Linked DNA regions of Homo sapiens: region 2 is linked to region 1. The links are contacts of gene promoters, found by promoter capture Hi-C in human tissues and cell types (Jung and others, 2019). All regions are on one chromosome and are shown on one strand. Each heading gives the region's core, a stretch centred on a gene start or on the middle of the fragment in contact. The rest is flanking DNA. Distances are from core to core; before and after follow the strand shown. Region 1 holds the start of HOXB13 (homeobox B13). Region 2 overlaps LINC02086 (long intergenic non-protein coding RNA 2086).

What was found. The method cuts DNA at HindIII sites, captures the fragments that hold promoters and counts their contacts. A contact is called where the count stands out against the background at its distance.
Region 2: a contact is called between a fragment that was not itself captured here and the fragment with the promoter of HOXB13 in region 1, in 2 of the 25 tissues and cell types used here (H1 embryonic stem cells and lymphoblastoid cells).

The regions. Positions count from the first base shown.
Region 1 is chr17:48,727,433-48,730,083 of GRCh38, reverse strand. HOXB13 (homeobox B13) reads left to right here and starts at 1,334. Exons shown (of 2, transcript NM_006361.6): 1 at 1,334-2,091. The coding sequence starts at 1,491. The HindIII fragment of the contact is 5,391 bases long and covers 1-1,849 here.
Region 2 is chr17:48,651,600-48,654,250 of GRCh38, reverse strand. It overlaps LINC02086 (long intergenic non-protein coding RNA 2086), which reads right to left. Exons shown (of 8, transcript NR_189645.1): 2 at 1,818-1,862; 3 at 1,277-1,380. Among named protein-coding and RNA genes, the nearest start is that of LINC03057, 6.1 kb to the right of the region's middle. The HindIII fragment of the contact is 3,865 bases long and covers 1-2,651 here.

The DNA of each region.
Region 1 (2,651 bases), core at 85-2,584:
CAGGAGGCAGATAGGGGTCTTGGGCTTTCTGGGTACTCAGCTTGTGTGGGAGTATGCCAGTATCAGGGACAGTTTCCTGGGCCCCTTGCAGACCATAGGGAGAGGACTGCAGGGCAGGGAGACTGGCATCTCCACACAGGCGTCTGTATTCTTGGGGTCCAGAACTCCCGCAGCTGGTTTCTGGCAGTCAGCCAGGCTTGGCTTCCTCAGACTTCTTTAGATCCCAAAAAAGGGGGAAAGTGCCTCTCTTCTTTCTCTTTTCTGACTGACACTTCAGGATTTTACAAGATTTTGTCCCATCCGCTCTGTCAGCTTCTCTCTTTCCCTCTTTGTGTTGCTGTCCCTGAGTCTCATCTCTCCCTCTCCCCGTCCCTCCCTCAAGTCCTGTGGGTCTCCGTCCCTCCGTATGTCTTTACTTAAAGGGAAATCCAGACCCTTCCACAGGCCACTCTAGAGGCTCCATTTCCCCTTCAGGTCCGGAAGTGGAGTGTCCTGGGTTCCATCCAGATCGCATGTCTTCTACGTCTACGTTCGTGTCTCCCGCCTCTTCCCTCAGCCTCACCCGAATCAGGGCCTCCAGAGCATTCTGGGCAGTAGCGAGTCCCTGGGTAAGGGGCGTCCAGGGCACCTCCCTGGGGCCCGGAGCAGCTCATTCCAGGACATCTGGGACAGGAAGGGTACCGGGAATGAACTGGGGTGCTAGTACCCAGGACCCAAAGCCAGGGGCTGCCAGAAATACCTATTAACCCCCATTTCCCAGCCTCCTCTTACACAGGCGCATTCCCGGGTTCTCCTCTGAGGCCGGGAGCGGCCTCCCAGCCCCACCCCCGACTCCCCTTCCCCCCCAGGAGATGGACACTTTATAGAGAGAGCTTTTTATTCTCTCGTTAAACCTGTCAAAGCGCAGGAGACAGAAAGCTAGGGAGGGAGAGGAGGAGAAGGAGGTGGGGCCCGGCTCCTCGTCCCCTCTTCCTCCGCCCACCACGCCTCCCCTCCCCCCGGACGTGTAAATGAGACTCTGCAAACTGGAAAGCAGCGAAAGGACACCTCCTTCCTTTTCTCTCTTGTTGTTTTTAAGTGGAATGAGAGAGAGAGGAGTGGAGAGGGAAAAGAAGAGAGAGAGGGAGAAGAGAGAGAGGAGAGAAAGAGCGAGAGAGCGAGAGAGAGAGACAGAGACAGAGAGAGAGAGAGAGAGAGAGAGAGAGAGAAAGAGAGAGAGAGAGAGAGAGAATAAGCTGGGGTAAAGTATTTTCGCAGTTTCTGCCTTTAGGATTTTATTAGCTTCTCTCCCCCAGGCCGCAGCCAATCAGCGCGCGTGCCCGGGCCCCTGCGTCTCTTGCGTCAAGACGGCCGTGCTGAGCGAATGCAGGCGACTTGCGAGCTGGGAGCGATTTAAAACGCTTTGGATTCCCCCGGCCTGGGTGGGGAGAGCGAGCTGGGTGCCCCCTAGATTCCCCGCCCCCGCACCTCATGAGCCGACCCTCGGCTCCATGGAGCCCGGCAATTATGCCACCTTGGATGGAGCCAAGGATATCGAAGGCTTGCTGGGAGCGGGAGGGGGGCGGAATCTGGTCGCCCACTCCCCTCTGACCAGCCACCCAGCGGCGCCTACGCTGATGCCTGCTGTCAACTATGCCCCCTTGGATCTGCCAGGCTCGGCGGAGCCGCCAAAGCAATGCCACCCATGCCCTGGGGTGCCCCAGGGGACGTCCCCAGCTCCCGTGCCTTATGGTTACTTTGGAGGCGGGTACTACTCCTGCCGAGTGTCCCGGAGCTCGCTGAAACCCTGTGCCCAGGCAGCCACCCTGGCCGCGTACCCCGCGGAGACTCCCACGGCCGGGGAAGAGTACCCCAGCCGCCCCACTGAGTTTGCCTTCTATCCGGGATATCCGGGAACCTACCAGCCTATGGCCAGTTACCTGGACGTGTCTGTGGTGCAGACTCTGGGTGCTCCTGGAGAACCGCGACATGACTCCCTGTTGCCTGTGGACAGTTACCAGTCTTGGGCTCTCGCTGGTGGCTGGAACAGCCAGATGTGTTGCCAGGGAGAACAGAACCCACCAGGTCCCTTTTGGAAGGCAGCATTTGCAGGTACCTCTATTACCCTGGGTCCCCTTGTCTCTGAGCCTGGGGTTGTGGGTCCCAATGGCATTTCCCTGGGAGGAGGAGGAGGGAGACTTGGAGCTGGTGAGGATGAGCTTGGTGCTCCTCCCTTGGTTATTAGGACTCTGAAGGAGGTCTGAGTAGCTGGAGGGCCTGGATGGAGGTCAGTGTGAGGGGCCTGAGCTGGGTGCTATCTGAAGCCTGAAGGCCACCTCACTTCTCCAGGAGGCCCTGGGACCAGCCTTTCAACATGTCTGAGAGGTTTAGATCTCTTTGCTGTTGAGTGGGGATCAGGGTGTCCCTACCCAGCACAATTCCAAACTAATTCTACACAAAAGCTAAATAACTCTCAATTCGGTGCGTGGGGAGTGGGTGTGGGAGATGGGTAAAAAGGTATTGGATGTACTGTAGAGAATACAACCTCTCACTTTCTATTAGATGAGTTTTCCAATTTCCAAAGAAAAATTTAGGTTTCCTGCAGCCGTGACATATGTGTGTGCACTGGGATGGGTTAATGTGTGTGTGTGTGTGTGTATGCGCATGTATTG
Region 2 (2,651 bases), core at 112-2,611, 76 kb after region 1:
AGATAGCAAGATGGTAGATTTCAACTTAACCAAGTCAATAGGTTTAAATATCAATATAAGAGTAGAGATTGTCAGACTGAATAAAAACACAAGACTCGCCTGTAGTCCTAGCTACTCAGGAGGCTGAGGCTGGAGAACCGCATGAACCCGGGAGGCGGAGCTTGCAGTGAGCCGAGATTGCACCACTGTACTCCAGCCTGGGTGACAGAGCAAGACTCCATCTCAAAAACAAACAAACAAACAAACAAACACAAGACTCAACCATATTCTGCCCACAATAAATCGCTTTTAAATATAGAGACACAGATAGATCAACAATAAAAGGATAAAAATTCCCATTCACATCAAAAAAAAGTTTGAGTGACTATATTAATATGATATATATATATATTTTTTTGAGACAGGATCTCTGTTGCCCAGGTTGGAGTGCAGTGGTGGTGATCATGGCTCACTGCAACCTTCACCTCCCAGGTTCAAGAGATTCTTGTGCCTCAGCCTCCTCAGAGGCTGGGATTACAGGCACACGCCACCACGCCCGGTTATTTTTTTATTTTTATTTTTATTTTTTGAGACAGAGTCTCGCTCTATTGCTGGAGTGCAATGGTGCCATCTCGGCTCACTGCAACCTCTGCCTCCTGGGTTCATGCAATTCTCCTGCCTCAGTCTCCAGAGTAGCTGGGATTACAGGCATGCACCACCACACCAGGCTAATTTTTGTATTTTTAGTAGAGATGAGGTTTCACCATGTTGGCCAGGCTGGTCTCAAACTGCTGACCTCAAGTGATCCACCCGCCTCGGCCTCCTAAACTGCTGTGATTACAGGTGTGAGCCACCGCGTCTGGCATAATTTGTATACTTTAGTAGAGGTGGGGTTTTGCCATGTTGGCCAGTCTGTCTCAAACTCCTGGACTCAAAAGATCTGCCCACCTCGGCCTCCCAAAGTGCTGGGATTACAGGCATGAGCCACCACGCTGGCCATATATATATATATATATATATATATATATATATATATATATACACACACACACACACACACACACACACACATATACATACTAGTATATATATACATATATAGAATATAGATACATAATCTATTGTATATATATTCTAGTATATATATGTATATATATATATATATATATATATATATATTAGAAAATAAGTTACGCTTTAGAACAAGGACTATAGCCATGGACAAAGAAGAGCATTACATAATGACAAAGGGGTCATTTCACTAAGAAAATATATCAATCCTAAATGTGGTACATACCTAATAATAGAGCTTCAAAAATACATGAAGCACCAAAAATGATAGCATTGAAAGGAGAAATCCACAAATTATAGTTGGATATTTCAACATTCTTCACTTGGTAACTGATAGAAGAAGTAAAAAGAAAATCAGTAAGTATACAGAAGATTTGAACAACATCAAATACTTTGACCTTATCGATCTTTACAGATATTCCACTCAGCAATAGCGGAGTCCACATTCTTTTCAAGTGTACATGGAACATTCACCAAAATAGACCATAATCTGAGCCATAAATTAATTCTCAATAAATTGAGAAGGATTGAAATTATATAAATTATGTTCCCTGACCAGAACAGAAGTAAACTGAAAATCAATAACAACAATAGCCAAAACATCTGGAAATGAAACAACACAAACTTAACCCGTAGATCAAATAAGAAAGCATGAAGAAAATTAGAAAATATTTTGAACTAAAGGAAATTGAACAATACCACATGTCACAAAGTGTAAATGCAGTTAAGGAAGTGCTCACAGGGACATTATAGCATCAAATACTTACATTAGAAGAGAAGAAAGGTCTGGCAGCAACACTTTAAGCTTGCACCTTAAGAAGTTAGAAAAAAATAAAAGAGCAAATTAAACCCAAAGTAAGCAGAAGGAAGGAAATAATATAGATGAGTGAAAATTACTGAAATAGAAAATGTGTAAACAATACAGAAAATGAAACCAGCCAGTTTTAAGAACAGCCAGTTTTTTAAAAGGCAGACTGATCAAGAAAAAAAGAAAAAACACAAATTACCATTATCAGGAATGAATGAACATCACTACAGATCATATAGACATTAAAAAGAAGATACTAAGGAAATATTAGGAACAACTATATGCAAATAAACTCAACACTATGGAATACATTAACAAATTTATTGAAAAACACAAACTACCAAAGCTTTCCCAAGAAGAAATATATAATCTGAATAGTCTTATGTATGAAAAGAAATTGAATTTTTTTTTTTTTTTTGAGACGGAGTTTTGCTCTTGTTGCCCAGGCTGTAGTGCAACGGCGCGATCTTGGCTCACAGCAACCTCTGCCTCCCTGGTTCAAGTGATTCTCCTGCCTCAGCCTCCCGAGTAGCTGGGATTACAAGCATGTGCCACCACGCCCGGCTAATTTTGTATTTTTAGTAGAGACAGTGTTTCTCCATGTTGGTCAAGGTGGTCTCAAACTCCAGACCTCGGGTGATCCACCTGCCTTGGCCTCCCAAAGTGCTGGGATTACAGGCGTGAGCCACTGTGCCCGGCAAGAAATTGAATTTGTATCAGAACTCTTCCCACAGCTGTGCATGGAGGCTCATGCCTGTAATCCCAGTGCTTTTTTAAATAAGCCAGGAGTGGT